Linked DNA regions of Homo sapiens: all the other regions are linked to region 2. The links are contacts of gene promoters, found by promoter capture Hi-C in blood cells and fetal thymus (Javierre and others, 2016). All regions are on one chromosome and are shown on one strand. The core of a region is centred on a gene start or on the middle of the fragment in contact, and the rest is flanking DNA. Distances in the headings are between cores, read along the strand shown.

Evidence for each region. Contacts are between HindIII fragments. The CHiCAGO score rates a contact against its expected background, and 5 or more counts as called.
Region 1: a fragment that was not itself captured here is called in contact with the fragment with the promoter of PASK in region 2 in 1 of 17 cell types (neutrophils); the score reaches 7.0 in neutrophils.
Region 3: a contact is called between a fragment that was not itself captured here and the fragment with the promoter of PASK in region 2, in 1 of 17 cell types (neutrophils). The highest score is 5.2, in neutrophils.
Region 4: a contact is called between a fragment that was not itself captured here and the fragment with the promoter of PASK in region 2, in 1 of 17 cell types (neutrophils). The highest score is 6.0, in neutrophils.
Region 5: a contact is called between a fragment that was not itself captured here and the fragment with the promoter of PASK in region 2, in 1 of 17 cell types (neutrophils). The highest score is 7.1, in neutrophils.

The regions. Positions count from the first base shown.
Region 1 is chr2:241,720,709-241,723,408 of GRCh38, reverse strand. It overlaps ING5 (inhibitor of growth family member 5), which reads right to left. Exons shown (of 8, transcript NM_032329.6): 6 at 335-470; 7 at 138-199. Among named protein-coding and RNA genes, the nearest start is that of D2HGDH, 13 kb to the left of the region's middle. The HindIII fragment of the contact is 1,238 bases long and covers 645-1,882 here.
Region 2 is chr2:241,148,065-241,150,764 of GRCh38, reverse strand. PASK (PAS domain containing serine/threonine kinase) reads left to right here and starts at 1,293. Exons shown (of 18, transcript NM_015148.4): 1 at 1,293-1,351. It overlaps PPP1R7 (protein phosphatase 1 regulatory subunit 7), which reads right to left and starts at 298. Exons shown (of 10, transcript NM_002712.3): 1 at 218-298. The coding sequence starts at 269. RefSeq lists silencers at 1-216, 1,347-1,706, 1,767-1,826, 1,877-1,926 and enhancers at 507-666, 2,180-2,339. The HindIII fragment of the contact is 12,026 bases long and covers 1-2,700 here.
Region 3 is chr2:240,594,285-240,596,984 of GRCh38, reverse strand. It overlaps CAPN10 (calpain 10), which reads right to left. Exons shown (of 12, transcript NM_023083.4): 6 at 2,276-2,442; 7 at 1,681-1,961; 8 at 464-666; 9 at 43-304. Among named protein-coding and RNA genes, the nearest start is that of CAPN10, 8.9 kb to the right of the region's middle. The HindIII fragment of the contact is 6,622 bases long and covers 1-2,700 here.
Region 4 is chr2:241,738,313-241,741,039 of GRCh38, reverse strand. D2HGDH (D-2-hydroxyglutarate dehydrogenase) reads right to left here. Exons shown (of 10, transcript NM_152783.5): 3 at 1-7. Among named protein-coding and RNA genes, the nearest start is that of D2HGDH, 5.0 kb to the right of the region's middle. RefSeq lists an enhancer at 1,395-1,494. The HindIII fragment of the contact is 931 bases long and covers 785-1,715 here.
Region 5 is chr2:241,678,260-241,680,959 of GRCh38, reverse strand. DTYMK (deoxythymidylate kinase) reads left to right here. Exons shown (of 5, transcript NM_012145.4): 3 at 641-731; 4 at 2,311-2,508. Among named protein-coding and RNA genes, the nearest start is that of DTYMK, 7.2 kb to the left of the region's middle. The HindIII fragment of the contact is 1,700 bases long and covers 585-2,284 here.

The sequences.
Region 1 (2,700 bases), core at 14-2,513, 570 kb before region 2:
AGTGGGGCATGCCTACGTGGCTACCGTGTCCCGCTAAGCCCGGCAAGATTCTGCCATGGAGCACCTTCTCCTGGGGAGGCCAGCAGCGCAACACCCAGCAGACTGGGAGAAAACAGAGCGAGCGTCCCCACACTCACCATTTTCCTTTGGGTTTCGTGGTAAGGTCCACGCAGGCAAAGTGAAACCACTCAATTGGACACTGCAAAGTAAAGGGAGAAACCGCAGTCAACACGCCTCATGTTCTGTATGCAAAACACAAGAAATGCCAACATCCGCCAGCCCTGCCCCACACAAGACCCCGCCCCATGGCGCGAATCCTGCAGGCGACACTCACGTCTGGATTGTCACAGCCAATCATCTCCCCATAGGAGACCTGGTGGCACAGGCAGTACGTGGGTTCGTTTGGGTCCACGGGCATGTCCAGCACATCAGAGGGGTGCACGGACAGGATGGTGTCAGTGAACTCAGACCTGCAGGGGACAGGGCACAGGCACCACTGAAGGCCATGGTGGGAAGTGAGGCGGCACGGACACCACGGGCCCTTCTGTCTCTGACTTAAGGCCCCCTCACCCCAAAACTGTGAAGACAATCATTCCAAGGGGGAAATTGGTACCGTGCTCTGAGCGACACATAATGAATAAGCTTGCTTCCATTTTTCCCATTGTCCTTTAGAAATGAATGCGACTCCAGGGCCAGCCACTGCAGTCATGCACTAACTGAATACACACCTTGTGGACGTTTTCTTCCTGGAGCACACATTTTCAAAACCTCAATAACCCCTCTGAACACGCAATGTTCTAAGAAGGCGCAGCAAGAAAATCATTAAGTATACGAACAGATTGTCAGCTGATGCTAGAAAGAACAGTTACCCACAAAAATCCAGGAACAGCAGCAGCTGGCAGCAGAGGGGTGGAGACCTCGCGCCCACCTTCGGGCCCAGGCAGGGGCATGGGGGCACAGAGGGCCCCCAGGAGGCCGTGAAGCGCAGCACTCACCCACAGCACCGGGGTTCTGGTCCCACTCTGGGGACGAGTCCACTCTCATCTCGGTCCCTCCTCCCAGACAGGACTCCCCCGGGGACCTCTGGACTCAACCCACTTCTGGGCCATCCCTCCAAAGACCCCGGCCCCTTTGGAAACAAGCACACGTCACCTCTGCCAGCAGACGGCTGACACCTGAGAGAAGCCTGCCAGCCTCCCACTCCAGACTGACAGGTGTCAGAGCAGCCCGCACAGTCAACAGCTCTCCCGTAACTGTGACCTCCTCCCAAGAGAACAGCCATGCGTCCTGCGCCCGGGCCCTCCACGCACCTACTCAGGCACCTCTGCCCCAATACTGACTCAACCAGCAGCTCCCCACACACTCCCTGGACCGCCCACCACCCACCCAGCTGTCCACCTGGCACAGGGCCCCTTCCGACCACACACCATCCTTGTCACTCCTTCATCCCCATCAGCTCCCACGTGGGTTTCTACACAGCAGCCTGGCAGGTGTTCCACCCCGTCTATGCCTCCCTCCAAGCCTGCCACCTGTAGCACCATGGCCGTCCCACCAGGACCACAGACCTCAGGTGGAGACTTTCCTGTTTGAAAGGGATGCACTTAGGGGGAAATTTACGCTTTTATATTTCAGTATTTTTCAAATAAACTTACAAGCTGCAGGTACTATAGACAGTGTATTCCCATTAGTACAGAAAGAAAAAGTATCTTCCCTATCCCACCCTCCAACCCACGAATATCTAGTTGGTATGTAAACACAGCAGGTTAGCAGGAGGAACGTGGCCGTGAGAAAAACAGTCACGATCAGGGAAAGCCAAGGAGCAGAAGTCTGGGTCCCAGAGGGAATCAACACTCAGCTTTTCCTTGGATACCTGTCTAAAGCTTTTCTACGCCTTTGCAATTGCCTGTACACATACACACACACTCGGGCTCAGCATGCACCCGGCCTCCCCGCTGCCCTCTGGCACAGGGGCGCCCACCTAAGTCTGTCCTTTGCAGGTAATCTGCTCTTCTGCTCTTTCTCTCTGTCTGGGAATAGACAGGGGTTTCTCTTTAGAGCTGAAATCCATCAGCGTCACAAGTCCAGGTCCAGGTGCTGCCGACACTGCTTTCAAGCAACAGTCTCAAGTAGTCTTCGGGTCTCTCCTCTGACAGCAGCACGCAAGGGTCTACGTCTCAGCCTCCTGCCGATTCCGGGATGCCACCTGTGGCTTCACCTCCAAGGGGCTCCTGCGGTCTCCTCGAGTCACCTCTCACCCGCGGAGAGCAGGGCAGCACCCTCTGCTGCCAACCGTCCCCGAAACGCTGACGCCCTCCTCTTCTGCGCCGAGTCCAATTCTGTCCACAAAGCCCGACCTGACATCTTGAGCTGCCACTTGACCTGTGTCTCAGCATCACCAGGTTCGAGGGCGCTGGCCAGATTTGATGGCTGTGGGAGAGGGCCGGGGGCCTGAGGGGACCGCCCAGCAAGGGCACCCCAGAAGCTGAGGCCACCGTGCAGGCCTCACTGGCCTCTCAGTCTCGCCTGAGGGAGCGCCATGGCGTGTGGCCAGGGAGTGCTGCTATCAGCCCTGAGGGAGGCAACCAGGAGGCCATGGGGAGCCCTGTCCCTTGCACAGGCCAGGGTGACCCCAACTGTCAGCGGCTGCTGACTCCCTTCAGCACCACTGCCACAAGAGGCACCCTCTGTGCTAACTCCCCA
Region 2 (2,700 bases), core at 44-2,543:
CTCTGGGTCCTTCCCGGCCGCTGCCGCCCCCGGGCCGGGGCTCCCCCGAGGTCCAGCGCCTCCCCCGCTCCCCCGGGTCCGGCTGTCAGCTGTCAGGGGGCCGCGCGGCGGCGGCCAGAGGCAGGACGTGGAGTTTCTCTCAGGCACGGAGCAGTTCCAGCCCGCAGCTCCCCCCGCCCGCTGGGCCCTTGGGCCGCCGCCCGCAGGGGCCGCTCACCCTCCATCATCTCCTGCGACTGTTGCTGCCCCGCGCCGCGTTCCGCCGCCATGTTGGCTGCTCTTCCCCTTTCCGGAATCTGTCGCCTCAGACCCCTCAGCCAATCAGGGCTCCCGCCTCAGAGCCGGCCCTGCCAATGGGATTCCGGCGCGGCGACTTCAGCCGCGCCGCGCCTGCGTGGGCCCAGCGCCTCATGGGAGTTGTAGTTCCGTCATGAGGCCGCGCGCCGCGCCTCCCCCAGAGCAGGTAATTTCAGGCGGCGGAGCCGGAACAGTCTGGAGGCGAGAAGCTGGGAAGGAAAGCAGAGGGAGTCGAAGCGGGACGCACAGAGCCGTAGCTGCAGGCAGACGGAGTGGACGTCTAGGCAGAGTGGAGAGACGCCCTGGGCTTGAGAGTTGACTTATGTCACTGTCTCGACCTCGGAGGCGTGGAGGGGCCGCGGGCCAGGCGGATCTTTCCGTGGCTGCAAGGTGCGGGCCAGTCCTACGTGCATCCCTGACCTCTGCGAGCCTCGCTGGCTGCGTCTGTACAATGGGCCGAACGGCAAGAGCAACAACATTCTCCCGGCGTCCCCGCGCGGATTTTACCCATGCGAAATGCCGCCTTCTCTTGACGCTCGGAGCAGGCGGGCAGGTGCGGGGCACTTGCGCTGGTGGGGCCGCTAGCCAGCTGGCTGGCTCCGGGGCGCCAGCTGGGCTCCCCTTGCAAGTCGTTCCCAGCCCAGTGCGGACGCTGCAGCCTTCGTCTACCCTGCGGAGCCACCCGGCCCATGAACGAGCCGCCCCGCGTCCTCCGCCTTCAGAAAGAGGCCTCCAAGAGGCGAGCTCTGCGCTACTCACCCATTTTGATCGCGAGTCGGGAGGAAACCGCATCTGCCCGGCCCGGGGGCGGAGGCGCCCATTATTCCTTTGGCTCCTCCGAAGCGCCGTAGGGGTGTTTGGTGCGTCCCTAGCAACCCTTAGCGCGGGCTTCTAGACTCTGGCTAGCTTAGTCCCGCCCATACGCGCAAGTGGCTGGTCCGTGGAGCTTGTCAATCGGTGCTAGTCGCTGTGCGATTGGTCGGTGGGATAAAAGCGCGGAAGGGCTCCTTTCCGTGGTGTGTAGCCGGCTTGGCGTGACCCTCGCCTGATCCAGGTGAGATACCTGCGCTCGGGAGAGCGGGCCGGGCTCCGCCATCTCCCCAGGGCGGCTGTGGGGCCTGCGCGGCTCCGCGCCCCTGGCCCAGGAGGATCCGCCGCCCGACTCTTAGACCAGCCCGACCCCGGGTCTCCCGCCCCTGCGCCCGTCGCCCTTCGCGCACCGCCGAGCCCGCGTCCTCTCCGTGCCCAAATCGCGGCGGGGTTGCGGCCGTTGGCCCTGGGCCCCGCGCCCCCAGCGTCTTCGGGGTGCCCTTCAGTGTAGCCTGCCCGGTGGGCGCCGAGGCCCCGCGCCTCGGGTCGCCTCGGGACCCTGCGCTCTCTTCACCGCAGCCGGCCCTGCGGGGCGAGCTCCAGGAGAACCAGCCCGGATCCCGCCAGCCTCCTGCACTGGGCGTGTGGGTCCCTGCGGGCTCAGCCGGCGCCGCGGGGTCGGGGGCGCGCGCCGCCGGCGCTCGTGGTTACAGCAAAGACCTGGACTTGAGCCTTAATTTTTTCACTAATTTTTCTTTCCCAGAGTACGGCAGGGGCCTGCGCTGCCGTCTTGAGGCCTTTCTCGTCCTTACCTTCCGCATCTCAGTACCATTCGATGTCCATTTTTCTCTTAGGGGTTCCCTCTCTTCATCTTTCTGCTGCTACCTTAATTTAAGACTTTATAATTTCTTGCCTGGATTACTGTAGCCTTTCTCCTGCTTTCCAGCCTTGCACCGACATGGTCCCTGGAGTAATCTTTGTAAAATGCATATCTGGCCATGTTACTCCTAAGCATTGAATCCTTAAAAGTTCATTTTGGGGATAAAATTAAGACTTTGGGCAGGCATAGGAGGCTCTGGGCTCATGCTTGGCCCTTCCAGGCCCACGTCCACCTACTCTTCTGGGTACTGAACTCCTCTCTGGGAGGCTTTGCCTCTGAAAGACTTCTTCACTCTGCTTGGTAGGGCCCGGCTCTGCAGGTGCCTCCTCCAGGACTGACATCCTTGCTGTGTTCTACTGCACTGTTCACCTTGTTGGCCTCATCCTGAAACTGGTTCTCCTTTTTGTTGTACAGCTGTGCTGACAGCAATGGGAGCTGTTTGCTTCTTAGCTTATGTTCTGGTGGGAGGGGGACAGTTGCTTCTAGAAGTTCGCCGAGATGCTCCCTGCAAAGTTGTCCTTGCTTCTGTTTGGTCTGAGGTGGGGTCACTTGTGTCTTCTGGAATCAAAACTAGCAATGGGAATATGGTTACTCGGTGGCACCATTAGGTGCTGTCTGCTGGGTTTGGGTTCCCGTGTCTGCAGCTCACAGTGGATACAAAGGACAATTTTAAAAATTTGGGCCTGGACGTGCAGGTATTTCTGGTTAACGTC
Region 3 (2,700 bases), core at 149-2,648, 550 kb after region 2:
GCCCCTTCTGCTCCCCCTCCCTCCCTGGGGCAAGGAGCTTGCCTGGAAGATATGGAAGCCGATGGGGTGGAACTCGGTGTCACTGGGCCGGCAGTGCTGATGCAGAGTGATGCGGACGCAGCGGGGGCCAGGGCCCTCGGGGACCGAGAAGGGGAAGCAGGGGTTGGTGGGGTATGAGGCAAAGTTCCTGCTGCCCCCCGCCGTCTGGCCGACTCTCCAAGAACCCCGTAGCTGCACGGTCCCCCACTCCCCCGCAGGCAGGGCTGCCCCGGGGGTGGTGTTCTTGGCCACTGCCCTGATGGCGCTGCCAAGAAGACAAACATGGGAGGGCGCTGGCAGCAGGTTCCCGGTGGCCTCAGTTCCCACATGGACACCTGCCAACCACAGAGGGAAAGTGCCCAAATCCTGCCTTGGAAGGGCCTGTGGCCTCGGAGAGCCAGCAGCACTGCGCGGTTCCTCTCACCTAAGGGAGACTCGCCCGGTAGAGAAGACTCGGAGCAGGAACTCCCCTGGCGCGTCCTTCAGGAAGGTGCTGGGGACAGCCAGGTAGTAGCCCGGTGAGAGCTCACAACGCAGGTGGACCTCCCGGTCGTATGCATGGCACGCGGTGCCAGCCACGGGGGGCATGGACAGGACCCTAGGCAGATTGACCCGCCGCTTCTCTACCTGTGAGCACGTGCAGGAGGCTCAGTGTGGAGGAGCGGCCGGGGTCAGACGCCCTGGCCTTGACCTCCCTGCTGCAAGCACAAGGGCCTCTGGAGTTGACAGATGAAAGCGCCAAGGCCTGTCAGCACCCTCCACCCTCTCTCAGGGACCAGCTAGAGATGCCCACCAATCCCGGGCTTCACTTGGCCCTGGCGCCAGTATCTGTCCCAGACACGAGCCTGCAAGTCCTCCTTGTAGCTGGGCCCACAAAGGCACCGTGGCCCAGGCAACCTGGGGGCTGCTGGACAGTGGGCCTTCCAGCAACTTCTTTTGCAAGAGGAAAGGAACATCATGTGGGCCACATCCATGAAGGGACAGGGAACAGTGTGGTGCCAAGTGTCACACCCTGTCAAGACACACAAGATGAAAACCCAGCCCCTGAGCGAGCAGCCGGCATATCCTCGACCCACACTCAGGCCCTTTGCCCTCAGGCGCCCCCATCTGTTCTTCCTGGAAACAACACACTTTGTGAACCAGTGGTTGAGCCTGGGACTGCCTGGGCCTCAGAGCAATCCCATGAGATCCGTGTCAGGACCCCGTCTTGCAGGGGAAGAGACTGAGGGAGGCAGGGAGAGGATGTGTGCCAGGTCACACAGCAAGCTGCAGAGCTGGGACTGGCCCTGACAGGTCCTCAGCCGCTGGCTCTACCTCCTTGCCTCAGAAAGGCACGGCGCTGCCAGGAGCCCCCCGGGTCCAGGCCCCTCCTGCGGGTCCTGCCCTGGCTGCAGACTCTGTTGCTTTCCTTTGGCCAATGAGGCACACGGCAAGGCAGAAAGACCTGCAGTCTCAGGTCAGAGCCGGGTCTGGGAGCACCAGCAGACGTCAACCCCGTGCAACAGCCCAAGGAGGGGGGAGACTGGTGGGGCCCGTGGCAGAGTCACATGTGTCCCGGCAGAGCCAGTCCTAGAACCCAGACCTCCATGGGCCTCCACACCACCTGCTGAACCGAGCGTGAGCCAGACGGGGCTGAGTTACCTTCCAGAGGTGCAGACCCACAGCCTGGTAGTGCTTGCCCGGGATGCTCGCTGGGCTCCACGAAGTATGACTGTCACCCACCAGTGCCCGGGCCCGGCCTGCCCAGTCCGCCGCGTGCAGCCTGGATCTCTGCAGGACGGCAATGTACACCTCACTCGGTTCTGAGACCCGCAGCCAGAATTTGGGGTTGCTGGGAAAGCCGCTGTTGTTCCGGCAGCCTCCTGCTGACTGGCCCTTGACCCAGGCCCCAGGCAGCGCCCGCGTATGGCAGAGCAGCCTCTCTAGTGAGAAAACACCAGGCATCAGCTGTGGGACACGGCTCCTCGCTGGCCTCCCGCCATGGTGGCCTCATGAACCCTGGCAGGGTCTAAGCAGCAGCTACGGCCACAGACAGAGCCAGCCCCTCCCACAAGCCCACCCTCCTCCCAGCTCCTGGGACAGAATCATCACCCTCCTCCCGGCTCCTGGGACAGAATCATCTCTCCACGCTGAAGAGAACCAAACTGGGCCTGGGCAGGGGGAACCCAGGCACCTGCCCAGCCTCCTCACTTCGGCAGGCAGAGCACGTGCCCAGCACAGCCCCTCGGGGCACTACCTGTGTAGAGGCTCTGCAGGTGGCCGGCCTCCGTGACCGGGTAGCCAACGGTGAGCTCGTCAAACTCCCTGAGGAACTCCTCCTCCTCCACCCAGAACTCCCCTTCCTGGAGCTGGGACAGGAGCTCAGATGCTACCGCTGCATCTACCTGGCTCCACCCTTCACCCCTGGAAGAAACCTCATCTCAGCAGAAGCCCCTCCCGAGAACTGGTAGTGTCAACTTGCCGGCAGGCTGGGGGGAAGCCTGGAGGGGACCCAGAGAGCCCTGAGTTCCTGCCAGCAACCCCGTGCCCCAGCTCTGCAGCCCCTCCCACACCCGAAGCAGCTCTGCAGCACAGGGCCTTCTGGGCAGCGGCCACCCTGGAGCCCTCTCTTTTCCCAGAGGAACTTCACGCCTCTGGATGCGTCTTCCCAGGACTGCTGCC
Region 4 (2,727 bases), core at 1-2,500, 590 kb before region 2:
CTACAGCCTGTGACAGGAAGAAGATCCTATGAGACAGCGTGGGGGGAGCTGCAGATGAGGCAAGTGGTCACTCGCCCCAGAGAGCGAGTTTTTTTTTTTGGAGACGGACTCTCACTCTGTTGCCCAGGCTGAAGTGCCACGATCCTGGCTCACTGCAACCTCTCCCTCCCAGGTTCAAGCGATTCTCCTGCCTCAGCCTCCCAAGTAGCTGGGATTATAGGCACCCGCCACCACACCTGGCTAATTTTTGTATTTTTAGTAGAGACAGGGTTTCACCACATTGGCCAGGCTGGTCTCGAACTCCTGACCTCGTGATCCGCCCACTGCGGCCTCCCAAAGTGCTGGGATTACAGGCATGAGCCACCATGCCCAGCCCCCAGAGAGTGATCTTATTTGGGAAGCTGAGGAGGGAGAATCATCTGAGTCCAGGAGGTCAAGGCTGCAGTGAGCTATGATCGCAACACTGCACTCCAGCCTGGGTGACAGAGCAAGAAGCCATCTCAAAAAAACCAAAACTAGGTCCCACATGGGAGGTGGTGGGCCGGGCACTGGGCACAGTGTGCAGAAGTGGGTAAGGCTGGGCCCATGGATGAGAGTCCCACAGGCCAGGCATTGGCAGCTCCAAGGTTGCCCACCCACTTGTGGTGAGGTCGGCTCGGTCCCACGGTAACGGGATGTCTGCAGGCTTCCCTCCTGCCACGCCACCACACTTCCTTTCGTGATGTGTGTGCACCTCACAAGCAGACGCTTGAGACTATGTGGACATCCTGTTGCTCCTCAAGCTTCACCCATTAACATCTTTGATTATCCTAGACCAAATCAGTTACTAGGATGGTTGCCAACTGGTGATTTTCCTAAATCCATCTGTCCACCTACACTTCCTTTTATTTCTTTTGAAACAGGGTCTCACTCCGTCACCCAGTCTGGAGTACAGTGACACAATCACAGCTCACTGCAGCCTCAACCTCCTGAGCTCAAGCGATCCTCCTGCTTCAGCCTCCCAAGCAGCTGGGACTACAGGTGCCTGCCACCATGCCCGGCTAATTTTGATATTTTTAGTAGAAACAGGGTTTCACCATGTTCCCCAGTCTGATCTTGAACTCATGGCCTCAAGCAATCCACCCACCTCAGCCTCCCTAAGGGCTGTGGTTACAGGCATGAGTCGCCGCGCCCGGCCTCTTAGCTGACTCTGCCACGAGGGAGGGCTTTCCCTTCGCTCTCACTGACGTGTTTATGTAGCTGCTTATTCACAGTGATGTGGGCTCTCGGCTTCTCACTTTATTCACTGGGCTATAAGTCTTGGCCGCCTTATTTGCTGAATGCCTGGATGTGACCAGTGGGAGCCCTCTGAGCTAGTTCGCCGGTGTTGCTAACCACTGCTGCCCCAAGTGAGCAGGCGTCTTTCTGCCTTTGGGTTTCCTTGAGACGACTTTCCCAGGTGATGGGGGCTGCAGAGAGGCAGCAGGTGCAGTCACGGGAGCCTGTCACCTCTTCGTGGAGCTCTGAGAACCAGGCTGTGGTGTCCACCTTGCTTTTCTGATCAGAAAGCCACTTATGTCTCTTTCATCAAATGAGCAATTTTTGCAGAGGGGCCTGCTGGGCACCTGGGCCTCGGCCCGACACTTCAGTGCGGCACCTGAGGGAACCCTGGCACCTGCGCTCACTGCGTCCCTGTCCCGAGTGGGCTCAGGAGCCCCAGGACTCATGGCAAAGCTTTCGACTCGGACACACTTGTGACGCGCCTGTGGCAGGGTTCTCAACACAAACATGAGTACCCCCCAAGAATGCAGGCCAGGCCGCGTTCCAGACACAGAATGAGCACAGAATTTCCCACTCCTGTGATGTTTACCTTCTAACGGGAAAGATGAAAAGGAGGGCTCCCTCCCGGTGGTCCAGTGTTAACGATGGGAGCCCCACAAAGACGGAGGGGGCCATGGGGGCAAGGCCGCCAGAGGTGACACAGGGGCCCAGCCTGTTTTCACACCGCGAAGCTCCCACCTTCCTGCCAGTGCAGGCGTGCTCACTAAACGTCTGCAGCATCCATCCTGAGCAAATGGTCTAGATTTTTGAATATGATGCTTAATGAGTTTTCAGAAGTCTAGACAAGCTCTCTCTCCAAAAGCAAGCCACATGAAGGGATAATTCACCTAAAATTCAACAACTAAGCCTCACATCAGCAAACACCTACTGAGCAGACATTCAGGACCAAACCTGTGGACTCAAACATGAGTGAAATTCAGCCTCGCCCTCACCAAACTCGGGGCAGCAGGACGCAGAGGAAGGCGCCCTCCCACAGGCACACACAGACACCGAGGGGCGGCCCTGCAGCAGGACAGGGTGTCCATGGCCACGGATTCCCAAAAAGGTGCTGACCAGAGAGCGGGGACCCAGGGGGACAGCCAGTTCTTGCCCAGTCAGGCTCAGGCAAGGCAGAGGAGAGGAAGAGCGTGGTCACCCCTCAATCTCAGTTACAGCTTCCTCCCCGCTCCTGCATGCCCCGGGGAGGTCCCTTGCCCATGAGGGCAGCAGCGGCATAGCCCAGGGTGCTGGCCTCCGAGCAGGCTGGGAGCACGGGAACCCAAGCATTGTGCTCAAGGCTCACGCTAGGTTCCTGCCCCACTTACCCGCACGGTGTTCCTGAGGCAGTGGCTCCAAGTCCCATTTTGTAGGGCAGGCACTGAGGGTCATCTGCCTAGGGCCACCCAGACAGCAGTGCTGAGCCAGGAC
Region 5 (2,700 bases), core at 185-2,684, 530 kb before region 2:
CTTCCTCGACAGGGTAGAGCTGGCCTCTCTGACCAAGACAGCTGACAGTGCATCTCCTTTCCCCTGCCGTGTTTCTGGAACATTGAACTTTACCAGTTGTGTTTGTTACTATTTAGTAAGGTTATCTTCTCCATGTTGGGTTTTGCTGGAGGTGTGGGTATGGCATCTTCTAGAGAAGATCCAGACCTTTTTGGATTAAAAGTAAGGTTACAAATCACTGTGCTGTACTTGTTGTCATATGAGATTTCTGAGTTGTATTGTTGGGATAATTTTCTTTTTCTTTTTTTGAGATGGAGTCTCGCTGTGTCACCCAGGCTGGAATGCAGTGGTGTGATCTCGGCTCACTGCAACCTCCACCTCCTGGGTTCAAGCAATTCTCCTGCCTCAGCCTCCCGAGTAGCTGGGATTACAGGTGCCTGCCACCATGTCCAGCTAATATTTTGTATTAGTAGAGACAGGGTTTCACCATGTTAGCCAGGATGGTCTCGATCTCCTGACCTTGTGATCCGCCCGCCTCAGCCTCCCAAAGCGCTGGGATTATAGGGGTGAGCCACTGCGCACAGCCTGTTGGGATAATTTAAGCTTGACAGTTCAAGGCCTATGAAACAGGACCAGGGCTCAGGAGCATCCTCTTTTTCAGGCCGTTAATTAAGGAAAAGTTGAGCCAGGGCGTGACCCTCGTCGTGGACAGATACGCATTTTCTGGTGTGGCCTTCACCGGTGCCAAGGAGGTGAGTGCCACTTGGCCTCCTGTCAGGCGAGCACAGATGTGTGGACCCAGGACTGCCCTTGAATGCGAGTACGAGTGACATGCCTCAGATTACTCTGCAGAGTTTCGTGATTCTTATATTCCTTTTATCTCTTTGCTAGATTAATTTGGTTTTATCAATAAGAAGAGCAAACATTTATGTAGCTAGAGATTGTTTCACAGATAGAACCATAGTTGGTATTTGGATTATATTTTCCACACGCTTTTTTTTTTTTTTTTGGGGAGACAGTCTCTCATTCTGTCACCCAGGCTGGAGTGCAGTGGCACGATCTCAGCTCATTGCAACCTCTGCCTCCTGAGTTCAAGCGATTATCCTGCCTCAGTCTCCCGAGTATCTGGGATTATAGGCATGCACCACCGTGCCCAGCTAATTTTCATACTTTTAGTAGAGACGGGGTTTTACCATGTTGGCCAGGCTGGTCTCAAACTCCTGACCTCAAGTGATCCACTCATCTCAGCCTCCCAAAGTGCTAGGATTACAGGCATGAGCCACTGCACCCAGCCTCCAGATGCATTTTCAAAGATGGTTCATTTGTAGTACTTTTTTCCCCCGTTTTTTGAAAGAGGGCGTCTCCCTCTGTTGCCCAGGCTGGAGTACAGTGGAACAAGCAAAGCTCGCTATAACAACTCTTGGGCCCAAGTGATCCTCCCGCTTCAGCCTCCCAAAGTGCTGGGATTACAGGCGCGAGCCACCGTGCCCGGCCACGCCCTCACTTTTTAATTCTGCCATTTCTTCATGTGTTAGCTTGAGTCCTTCCCCTCTGAAGTATTACGTTGTATAATAAGGAGGACAAGACTCATGATTCCTTTGCTTCTTCCTGCTGTGCGGATCAGCTGACAGAGCCGCAGGCTCTGTGGGAGGTTCTCGTGGACGCCTTCCCTCAGCTCATTGTGCTGTTGTGTGATGTGTGGCCTGCAGTCACAGCCTTTCTGGTCCTACCTTTCCTCCGGAAACAGGACAGCATTTGGAGGGAGATGGGATGAGTAAGGGAGGGAGAGAGGGTGCTGGCACAGCCCTGGCAAGAAGGGCCAGTGGATGAGACTAGGCTGGCACATAACAGGCTCTAGGAGTGCCTGTCTTCTTCCTGCTCTTCCACGGGAGAGGAGACCCTGGCGTGTGTGTGGCAGAAAAGACACTGCCAAGGACCTCGTGCCTGTGTCCGGACCCAGCTGCTCTGTGCTGCAGGCGTTCTAGGCCGGGGGTCTCCAGGGGTTCTGTACATAGACTGTTTGCTCCTGGCCAGCAGGCCTGTAGCTGTGCTGGGAGGGCCTCCATGGGGCCTGGGCTGTGGGTGGCGGGGACTGGCAGCCGTTCTATCTACCTACTTTTCTGTCCACTTGTCTGTTTACAAAGGAAAAACAAAGGTGACACTGGAGAAACCGACACGTTTGAGGTTCTAAAAATTAAACGAGCCACAATATAAACAGTCTCACATCTTGGTACCTCACCAAATGTCCCCTCATTTTTTCCTGTTTTTACGACTTTCGAAACAAAAACCTAGACTACACTAAGCTTTAACTGTTGGGTTCTTTCTTGGCAGAATTTTTCCCTAGATTGGTGTAAACAGCCAGACGTGGGCCTTCCCAAACCCGACCTGGTCCTGTTCCTCCAGTTACAGCTGGCGGATGCTGCCAAGCGGGGAGCGTTTGGCCATGAGCGCTATGAGAACGGGGCTTTCCAGGAGCGGGCGCTCCGGTGTTTCCACCAGCTCATGAAAGACACGACTTTGAACTGGAAGGTGAGAATCCCAGAATTGCACACTAGGAAGCGTGGAGAAGTGGCTCAGGATGACACCGTGGTGGCTGGCACAGTTGTGTCAGCAAAGCTGCTGCCGTTTCCGTCTGGTCCTCCCAGATGTGGAGCCCCGGGAGTAGTCGTTCAGGGGTTCTCGGTGCCAGCAAATTCTTTTTTTTTTGAGACAGAATCTTGC